Regions from separate parts of the Homo sapiens genome. Here region 2 is linked to region 1. The links are contacts of gene promoters, found by promoter capture Hi-C in blood cells and fetal thymus (Javierre and others, 2016). All regions are on one chromosome and are shown on one strand. The core of a region is centred on a gene start or on the middle of the fragment in contact, and the rest is flanking DNA. Distances in the headings are between cores, read along the strand shown.

Region 1 (7,143 bases), core at 4,093-6,592:
AAAGCATATGGCCAACTTCCTCACATGGTTGTTCTGAGTGAGGTAATGTATATAAACATGTCTGGGTGTTAGTTATTGTTGTCATGTATCGAAAGTGTTATATAAATTGTCAAGCATTATATAACTGTAATGATGACTATTATTTACATCGTGCTTTTAGTTTCTCCTAAATTCTGTAATTCCCTTCCTGAGTTCACTTTTTACTTTTACAACTGTGTAAAGCAGATAAGGTAGGTATCATCCTCATTTACGAGCTGATGTACTGAAGTCAGTATTGTCAACTTCCAGAGAAGCCTCTGGGAAGTCTGAATGAGGGCCCTTTCCAGTAGATTTTTCCTTAAGACTTGCATACTATACTGGTTCAATCTGCATAAAGTAAAAGTGTAACCCAGTGCTTCCCAAACGTTAAACCATTGTTCATAAATTTTGCCTTATATACATTTTGCTATCCTTCACAGTGTCTAATGATGTCATGTATACATACAACATATATATGTCTACATATGCATATGCATATGACTGAAATATGACTGAAGTGATTTGGTGAATCATTAAAACTTATTAAAATTCTCACCAGTGAGAATTTTTCACTTCAGGAAGCACTATTTTAGTTACATTTCAGAACACAGATAAAAACTTATATGTCTATATATGCATATGCATATGACTGAAATATGACTGAAGTGATTTGGTGAATCATTAAAACTTATTAAAATTCTCACCAGTGAGAATTTTTCACTTCAGGAAGCACTGTTTTAGTTACATTTCAGAACACAGATAAAAACTATGTTTTAAAAAACTAAAGGTGAGATTTTTATTGCAGATGAATAATCTGTGCCTCTTTCAGAGGGCTAATTTCTTCCATTTAAACTTTAAGTTAAGGATCCTTTACCATTCTATCTAATGTAGCTAAATTAAATTGATTAGGAAGCATATACTTGTTAAGTGGCTTGGAAGGTTCAATGCAAATGTTCTCTTTTAATGACTACTGAGCTATTTAACTTCATGGCAGCATACCAAAGTGGTTAAGATCACAGGCTCTCAGCTTTGTCACTTAATAGCTATACGACCTATTTAACCTTTCTGTGACTTAGTTTGCTTATCTGTAAAGTGGGGCTACTAATAGTAGCCTCATAAGATTGTGAGGACTCAGTGAGGTAATGCAAGTCAGAAAAGTATCAGGCACACAGTAAGCATTCAATAAATGTTAGCTATCAAGAGGACTAAAGTTCACTTGAGGCTTTTCTTGGTTAATAAAACTAAACTACTTTTCAAAAAATGTCATACTTTTCAAAAAATGATTGTCTCTTATTAAACCAAACTGTTTTTATATCTGTAAGAAATACCTTTCAAATACATGTTCTTTAGGTTGCTAACATCTTTATTATTTTTATTACTAATCATACTTATGAATGCATATTTTTAAAAAGACTAATTTCTACTTACAGATTTAGAAGGTGGTTGATTCTGGCAATTATTCTTGGATTTTAGATAAGGCCTATAAAAGACAAATTAAAATTAATCCTCAGCACAGAAGGATTCTAAGCTAAGCTTGGGAAGTACAGTGATTAAAAATTATGAATAGAATTTTAAATAATTAGAATTTCTGTAATGGCAAAATAATTCAAAATTATATTTAATAAAGTCTCCTTATCATCATTTCTTTAGTTCTGTATCCTCCCCCTTGGAGACCACCAACTGCTCCTACTCTTTTTTTTTTTGCCTTGTGATCCTTACAGAGACTGTCTATACATAAATCTAGCATTCTCACAATATTAATGAGATATATGTGTTTCCTTCATATTTATATAGTCTTACTCATTCACACATCATTCCTGGAGCACTGCAATGTGCCAGACACCGAAGACACAATGCCAAATAAAACCATTAACTGCTTCTTTAAAAAATTTCCGGCTGGGCGTAGTGGCTCACGCCTGTAATCCCAGCACTTTGGGAGGCCAAGGCAGGCGGATCATGAGATCAGGAAATAGAGACCATCCTGGCTAACACAGTGAAACCCCATCGCTACTAAAAATACAAAAAAATTAGCTGGGCATGGTGGCACATGCCTGTTGTCCCAGCTACTCGGGAGGCTGAGGCAGGAAAATGGCGTGAAACTGGGAGGCAGAGCTTGCAGTGAGCCAAGATTGCGCCACTGCACTCCAGCCTGGGCAACAGAGTGAGACTCCGTCTCAAAAAAAAAAAAAAAAAAAAAAAAAATTTCCTTGTTTTCAGTATCTTCAAATACTATCTCTTCTAACTTTAAGGGGGTAAAGAAATATTAAAAAAAAAAAAACCAAGACACACATGAAATATAGCTAGTGAGACAGGAAATGCAGAAAAAGGATTGGAAAACAGAGGTGAATTTAGAAGGAATCAATCTGCATGGACCAAAAACAATTGCTAGACTAACAAGGACTTTGATTATGACTTGTTTGATGTTTGTCTCTCCCATCTACAGCATAAGCCCTGGGAGGGCAGGAATGTCTGTCTTGTTAAGCGCCATTATCTCTAGCATCAGAAGTGACTGAGATGTTATAGGTACTAAATAAATATTTGTTGAATAAGTGAATTAGGTTCATTTAATCAAGGAAATAGAGGTGAGTAAACACCCAAGATAAAATAAAGGGTGAAAGCTAACTTTGTAAAAATTAATTTTCAAATAAATACTTAGCAACTCAAATGGGGAAAAAATTAATTAATGCTAAGAAAGGACAAATAACACGACAAAGATGGTAAGAATCTACAAAGGATAAAAATGAAGTGGACATGTTCTGTCTACCTTAACAGTAAATGCTAAGAGAATGACCCAAGAGCAGAGGGTATCACTCTGCTACGGAGGATTGATTGTAACTGGCTCTCCTGCCTTAGCAAGAAATGCCAGAACCATGGTCATTCAAGTTCTTGACCAAAAACTGCCTTCATGAGAATCAACTTCCCCAAGAAAAAAAAAGCAGAAACAGGCAAAGCTTCCAGCATGGTAGGTAATACTGACCCTTCTTCCCTCCTTCCTTTGGAGATTCACACAGTAATAATGCATAAAGCTTTGCCAATGGACTAAGCACTGCCCAGGGGTTTTTGTCATGCCTGGACTGAAATGCTCTTTTTGCGTTATCATAGAATCCCAGTGCAGTCTGAGTAGACTCTAAGCAAAAGGGACATTTTTCAAAAAGGCTTTAAATTGCTAGTACAAAGAAGGCAACAAAACTTGCGTAACTGTGGACAGATAAACTCACTTGGTGTTTTGGCTCTTCAGTTTTCCCTTGGCTGCAAGGTACTCCTGAAGCTTTCTCTGCCGCTCTTCTGCAACACAGGCAAGCAAACAAACGACATAACTTTAGTTCAAGATTTTAACCAGTTCATTAATATTCTAAAAGATGACACTTTTCTCTAGTGATTTTGCCTTTGCAACATAATGTTATAAAATCCCTAGTCCTATAAATGTGCCTTCAAGCTAACATCAACATCAACAATATCATTTATATGCCAGGCCTACACTAAGTTCTTTAAACTTACTACTTTTTTTTTTTTTTTTGAGACAGGGTCTTCCTCTGTCACTGAGGTTGGAGGGCAGTGGCACAACCACGGCTCACTGTTGACTTGATCTCCCAGGTTCTAGCAATCCTCACACCTCAGTCTCCTGAGTAGCTGGGAATACAGGCGTGTACCACCATGCTGGATAATTTTAAAAAAATTTTTTGTAGAGACAGGATCTCACTATGTTGCCAGGGGTGGTCTCAAATTCCTGAGCTCAAGTGACCCTCCTGCTTTGGCCTCCCAAAGTGCTAGGATTACAGGCGTAAGTCAAAGCACTCGGCCTAAATTTACATTATTGCTTTCAATCCACAAAACAATCCAATGAGTTTTTGCAATCTGAAATTCAGAGAGAGTAAATGTCATGCCCAAAGTTACCCAGCTAATATGTGGCAATTCCAGGACTTGAAAACAGGCTTTTCTAACCCTGGAGCTCACAGCCACTGTTCTCAGCTACAACAGTCTGTTTTGAAGAATTTCTGTTACTGGCCCACCTGAGCTGGTGAGCCAGGCCTGGTCTTACGTCTTTTGTTTTTTTACAGGGATGATGATTTTTACCCACAAACCCTTATATGGCTTCCTTTGTTGGTACTAAGGATAAAATACGCCCGGTCTGCTCACGGCAGACACCTATACTATGGTGACTTTCTACGCAAGCCATTTGTGAGGGGATGACAAGTCAATAATTTCTGCCTTCAAGAACTTTCAAACTAGTAGTGGAGATAAAATCAACACAGCAACAATTACAGTATAAGGTAAAATCTAAGGGCCATAAGAGACGAAAAGAAGTATGGGAGTTCAGAGGTAGGGCATAAATGAGGGGAGTAGGTGGCTAGAAAAGGTTAAAAGTAAATAATGATGTGAAGGAAGACAAAAAGACGACAGGGGTGCCAAACGACTCTTAACCTCATCTGAACGGAGTTGCCCTGTTTTGCTCTCTGATGCTCATGTATCTATCCTTAGAGACAGCTTGGCGGGCAATGTAGAGCGTAGGGGCTGACATAGGGGGTTGGAGTCCCACCTCCGTGACTTCTAGCAAATTAGCAAACTTTGCTGCTGCTAAGCCTATAAGGCGGACAGAAATGCCATCTTTAAAGCTTGTTATGTAAAGTGCCTAGGACCTCGTAGGCATCAACAGGAATAATGGATGAAACAAAACAACGGTGCGTATCTTGGAGAAAGTGGCATCTGAGCAGGAGTATTTTGAAAGGTAGGAAAGGGCTCCAAGCACATCTAAGAGATTAGGGAACGCAGAAGCCTTAGCCCTGGGTGCAGATTTAACCAATCAACTTCTAACCACCGCAGGCTGAGAGGTGTGGAGTGAGAGCCCCGCCAGAGGCAGGAGACCCGGGCTTCGGCCAGACCCCGCCTCCTGGCACAGAGGACCACGCCCGGCTCTGCCTGGAGCCAAATGTGGATCAAAACAGCGCGCAGCTTCCCACTGCTGGTGAAAACCCGAGCAAGGGGCCTCAGTTTCTTTATCCGGAACGTGGTGACAATGACATCTCTTTGCAAGGCTGCTGCAGGGCTTTCTGGAAATACGCCCGTGAGGTATCTGGGCCTGCGCACAGCCTCCCCCGCCCAGGACCCAGACGTCTACCTGGGGGTCCCGTCTGCGCTCCCGGGATGGAAAACGCCCAGGGGAAACTTAGGCAGGCGAGCGGACGGGCACCTCCCGCGGGACGAACTCACTCGGTGGCCTCCTACTTCCCCGGCCGTGTTCCAACGCCTGAGAATAACGGGAACAGCGGTCGTACTCACCGACAGCGGCAGCAGCGGTAGGCCCGGGCCCCACCATGACTCTTCAGTGACAGTTTTTCTTCAAACGCCGCGCCTGTAGCCAGGACCGGCGTGCCGCGCGTCCACGCGTCCTCATTGGCTCCTGCGGGTTTGAAACTCGCTAGTCGTCAGCACGGGAGGGCGGGACAACAGGCAATAGGCTCTTTGCGGTTGGCTCTGGCCTTGAGAACCCGACCTTGGGGCCCTTTGATTGGAAGAACGTGCAGCGCACCTCGGCATTGAGGGCGGCTTCCTCGGGGCGCGGCGCCGCCCGCCTCTGAGTGCGCCTGTGAGTGCGCCTCCGAGTGGGCGTGGGACCCTCCGTGGGGGCCTCAGCCGGGCTGGTGGTTGGGGGGCGGTTACGCTGAATCCAGCTGGGGTTGGCGCGCCGGGAGTCCCTGGGCGGAGAGACAGGGCGGTCCTCCCAGGATGCTGGGGCCGCTACCTGATTCTGTCCTTTCAAAGTCTCAGACTCACAGGAGCTGTGAAAAAATAATATTATAAAGAGGACATATGGGTCTTATGCATCTAAAGGCTCCTAGTTCTTAGTACTGCAGGGTGGCTCGTTTAATTGTGGTAAAATATGCATAACATCACATATACCATTTTAACCATTTTAAAGTGTTAAATTTTTCAAAAATGTGCAGTTTAGTGGTATTAAGTACCCTCACATTGTGGCACAGCCACCACTACTGTCCTTTCCAGAACTTTTTCATCTTCCCAAATGAAACCCTGTACCCGTCACTAACTCCGCACTCCTCCCTCCCCCAGCCCCAGGCAATCACCATTCTAGTTTCTGTCTCTATGGATTTGACAACTGTAGGTGCCATATAAGTAGAATCATGCAGTATTTGTTCTGTGACTGGCTTGTTTCACTTAGCATAAAGTATTCAAGGTTCATCCATGTGTAGCATGTGTCAGAATTTCCTTTCCTTTTAAGGGGGAATAGCATTTCGTTGTGTGGAGATGCCACATTTTGCTTCTTGGTCCATCCCTCTCCGGACACTTGAGTTGCTTCCACTTTTTGGCTATTGTGAATAATAATATGAACATGAATGCACAAATAACTCTTTGAGACTCTCCTTTTCATTCTTTTGGGTATATACCACGAAGTGGTATTGTTGGATCAAACGGCAATTCTATTTTTAATTTTTTGAGAAACTGCCTTACTCCTCTCACGGTGATCTCTTGTTCAAGGTATATTTTCGATTTCACCTGATCAGCTGACTATAAGGCCATAAGGCTAACGGAGAAACGCAGGCCTAGTTTCTCCTAGTTACTAGGAGATCGCAGGCCTCGTTGTCCTGAATCCCTAGACACACTTCATTCCCCTTGTTTTAATCCTAAATTTTTTTTCTTTTGAAGTTTGTCCTGTTTCATCTATTCTCCAGTTTCTTAAAGAGGTCTGGAAAATGCTTTTGGCTCCTTGTGTATGAAGGTTCCTCTTCCATGGATGCTGGAGAAGTCGTGTGTGGAGGGGCAGTCATATCTGGGCACCTGTTGGCCAGGTTCAGCTTACCAGTTGGGTACTCAGCAGGGCATGAAGCCACTGCAGCAGCCCTTCTCTTTAGCCGTAAATAGGGAGTTTGGAAGAGAGCCAGGGTTTCTGGATTTATGCATTTTGATATTTTCAATAGTGTATTAAATGTTTAAAATAGGAAAACTGATCATTATTTTTGTTAATGACTGAGAAAGGGACTCCTTCACCAACAGTTTCAGAAAAGTGAAGGCGGTTTTGTTTTGGTCTTTGTAGAATCTAGGTGGTTGAATGCATGTCAGTTGTAGAAGTCACCTTGCCTGATATCCCACGCAGTGCTGGAGTATTCCACA
Region 2 (4,078 bases), core at 251-2,750, 710 kb before region 1:
GTCTCCGCGACTTGGTGGTAGTGGTCCCCTGGGCCCAGCTGCCTTTTCTTTTATCTCTTTGTCTTGTGTCTTTATTTCTACACTCTCTCATCTCCACACACGGGGAGAGACCCACTGACCCTGTGGGGCTGGTCCCTACAATTTATGTGATATATAAGTTGCACATGAAGAGGAAATATCAGAAAAACAACCTTTATGTTTACATATCCATAAGCCTCAACTCAAAACTAAAATCAGTTTTGATTTAGGGAAGAAAAAGTTAAATGAAGGCAAATGGAAGTATGTGGAAAAGGTGCTTTATATGATACTCTCAAAATTTCTCATACAATCCAATATTTTAATTAAAAGCAATGAATCAAATGTACAGCTTTTTATGCAAAAATAGCATCTATTCATTTTTGGTGTTAGCCATACCCCAAAGTCTCTCATTAATAGCACTGAATTCAGGATCTCATGATACTTCGTGTTCTCAAATGCCTTTTCATTTCCCTGCACAGCAACCTCTGAACTGTGATTCAGTTTTATAACAGCTGCAATAAACTCCACTAGAGGAAGGACTGGTCTATTGATGGGGGCCTTTCAGTTCTAGCTTACAGTCAACTATTGCCAAATTTTTCCTTATTTGTTCTTTGGACAATTTTTGTTTGCTCCAGGATTTAATTTTTCAAATTAAAAATTATATGGTAGCTGTTTTGTTTGTTTGTTTGTTTGTTTTTCTAAATCCCATAAGACTCAAAAGAGAATGAGTAAAGCACTCTGGCAATCAGTTGACTATCAATCTATTTTTACCAAGTAATCATAAATTTTCCATCTGCTGTGGAGGACACCAAGTTGGATCCCTATATGGGATGTGAGAGGTGTGAGATACTCCCTTCCTTCTTCCTTCCTCCTCCTCCTTCTTAGAAAGGCATATAAATTTTATTAACATATATACAGGGAGAACCACAGAGTGATTACCCCCTTCTTTCTTAGTTTTGGAAATTTTTCTTTTGAAATGATTTCAGACTCAAAGAAAAGTTGCAAGAAGAATACAAAGAACTCCTGCATACTCTTCATTCAAATTGGTTTTATTAGATTATCTTGATAGATAGATAGAGATGGTATACATGTTATACATATATAAAGCTTATATATATAATATATAAAAAGTTTTTTGTAACCACCAAAGAATAAGTTCAGATGTGGTGCCCGCTTACCTTTAAATACTTCAGTGTGCTTTTCTCTAGAAAGAGGACCTTCTCTTAGTGTGATAACGGTGCCATTTTCACATTCAGGAAATTCACATTGACAATACCATTTTCTTAAAGTCCTTGTTCAAATTTCACCAATTGTCTAAAGAATTTTAATAGCAAAAACAATTTTTCTGGTGTAGGCTCCAGACTGCTAGGCCTATATGTCACATTTAGTTATCATGTCTCTTGGGTCTCCTTTAACCTCTAACTTCCTCAGCTGTTTCAAGAACCTGGCATATATATATATATATATATATATATATATATATATATATATATTTTTTTTTTTTTTTTTTTTTTGGTAAATTATACCAGCTAGTTACTTTGTAGAATGTCTTTCAATTTGGGTTGTCTGATGTTTCCTTGTGATTAGATTTAAGTATGTGAATTTTTTCCTCATTTCCTTGAATAGCTTGATTAGATGCATTTTTGCATTTTGGGCATGCATTTTTGGCAGGAATATCACAGAAGTCATGCTGTTTCTTTTCAGTTAATCAAATCATGATACATATCATGTCTGTTTGTCCCAATCCTTGTGGGATTAACCTTGATCATTAAGTTGGTGTCTGCCAGGTATCTCCACTGTATAATTACTGTTTTTCTCTTTGTAATTAATAAGTAATTTTTGGAAGATATTTCCTCATGAAGCTTTTGCCAACTAACTTTAGAATAGAATTGATGATTCTTTCTGAATCAATTTTAATTGTGATAGTTGCCAAATGGTGATATTTTAAATTTGTTATTCCTTCTGCATTTATTAGTTTTCCAACTGTAAGAAAGTGATTTTCTTTCCTATTTATGTAATCATTTATTTATTTATGTTAGTATAGACTCATGGATTCCTATTTGAGTCAATGAGTTACAATCCACTACTATCATTTTGGTGACCAAATTGTCCCAGATCTGGTAAGTGGAAGGGAGCTCCTTCAAACTGGCTCCTATGCCTTTTTGACGTGTCCTCATAATTTTTTACCCACTTCCTTACTTTCTGGCAAAACAAGATTCTCAAGTTCATCATGAATTTCTCTATTCCATTCCTGGGCTCAGCCACTTCTCCAAGGATCCCTGGTTTATTTTAGTGGAGAATGATATTTATAAAGCAAGATCTGGTGCTAGATGTACCTATTGCTACTGGGGTGTCGCTGCTTCTAGGTCCTCCTGGGAATCAGTGCAAGAAAATATAAACACACACACACACACACATATCTACATCTATTTATAAAACTAAATTTTAAAAATGAGTTCACACTGATATCATCAGTTGCAAGCCAGCATTATAGTTCATTCTAACCTTCCTCATTTTCCTTTTTTTTTTTTCCTTTTCTTGCTTTCTTTCTCTTTCTTTCTTTTTTTTGTTTGTGACAGGTTCTGACTCTGTCACACAGGCTGGAGTGCAGGGCTCACTGCAACTTTCGCCTCCCAGGCCCAAGTGATCCTCCCGCCTCAGCTTCTTTGAGTAGCCAGAACCACAGGCACGCCACCACACCTGGCTAATTTTTGTATTTCGTGTAGAGACAGGATTTCGCCATGTTGTCCAGGCTGGTCTCAAACTCCTGAGCTCAAACTATCCACCCGCCTTGACCTCCCAAAGTGCTGGGATTACAGGCGTGCCCAGCCACTGTAAACATCTTACGACCATGGGTGGTGACTGGCAAGAAATGTACCTTGCTAGTTTTAAGATGGAGTTATTTTTAAAATGGTGTCACCCTGGCTCTCCTATGCTCCTGTTTCCCAATTTGACAACCAACACGATCTTTCTGATCAGCTCATCCTTACTTAAAAACCATCATTGGGGCCGGGCGCGGTGGCTCACGCCTGTAATCCCAGCACTTTGGGAGGCCGAGGCAGGCGGATCATGAGGTCAAGAGATCGAGACCATCCTGGCTAACACGGTGAAACCCAGTCTCTACTAAAAAATATAAAAAAATTAGCCTGGCGTGGTGGCTGGCGCCTGTAATCCCAGCTACTCAGGAGGCTGAGGCAGGAGAATGGCGTGAACCAGGAAAGCGGAGCTTGCAGTGAGCCGAGTTCGCGCCAGTGCACTCCAGCCTGGGCGACAGAGCGCGACTCAGTCTCAAAAACAAAACAAAACAAAAAATCATTGCCTCTCCAGTGTTCTTAACTAAAGGTGCCATCTGCCTAACTTAATTTAGGAATGCCTGTATGTTTTGGTACTGTTTAAATATTCCCAGCTTTGCCACTCTCCGTCTCACACCAACATCCAGTCATCTGGAAGATCTTTCCATTCCTCCAGTTCTCTCGTAACTAAAACGATTTCAGACTTACCCCTCACTCCCACAGGTAACTCGCCCTTAACTCTTCTTGTAGAACTTAAATTTCATGTATTGTTCTCTCCTTCTGTCCCTCACTTACTTCCTAAATCTCTGGTGGATGTTCCCCTGTGGTCCTGTTACAGTTATTCTGACCTAAACAGAACTGATCACGTTGCTTACTGGGAAGATGCACATGCAATCTCTAGTGTATAGTAGGTCCTCAATAATTACTGGTGACTGGTAAAGCAGCCAAGGCCTTTGGACTATAAATCGATCTTATTCTACGTTAATAACAATATTAGCACAGGATTCTATTCCCTTGCTGGATATTATTTACATTTGATAATGAATGAACTAATTCTCTTTGACAGCAAAACATGTATTCAGCTTACAGCCGAAAATGCAAGGGAAGGTACACAATAAGACGGATCCAAGCCCTGACCCCTCTGAGCTTTAAGCCAGTCAAGTAACTACTTGTTCTGAAAAGTATTAACTGTCCTATTAACGTTAACCTTCACAACACAATGCCTTGTGTTCAACTGGCCTTGGCCTCAAAGCACTTTCCTGGCACAT

The links. The method cuts DNA at HindIII sites, captures the fragments that hold promoters and counts their contacts. A CHiCAGO score of 5 or more calls a contact.
Region 2: a contact is called between a fragment that was not itself captured here and the fragment with the promoter of CKAP2L in region 1, in 1 of 17 cell types (fetal thymus). The highest score is 7.4, in fetal thymus.

The regions. Positions count from the first base shown.
Region 1 is chr2:112,759,267-112,766,409 of GRCh38, forward strand. It overlaps CKAP2L (cytoskeleton associated protein 2 like), which reads right to left and starts at 5,343. Exons shown (of 9, transcript NM_152515.5): 1 at 5,296-5,343; 2 at 3,237-3,303; 3 at 1,447-1,498. The coding sequence starts at 5,332. RefSeq lists an enhancer at 4,973-5,112 and a silencer at 5,563-5,722. The HindIII fragment of the contact is 4,243 bases long and covers 4,630-7,143 here.
Region 2 is chr2:112,049,999-112,054,076 of GRCh38, forward strand. No RefSeq gene overlaps it. Among named protein-coding and RNA genes, the nearest start is that of TMEM87B, 3.2 kb to the right of the region's middle. The HindIII fragment of the contact is 755 bases long and covers 1,124-1,878 here.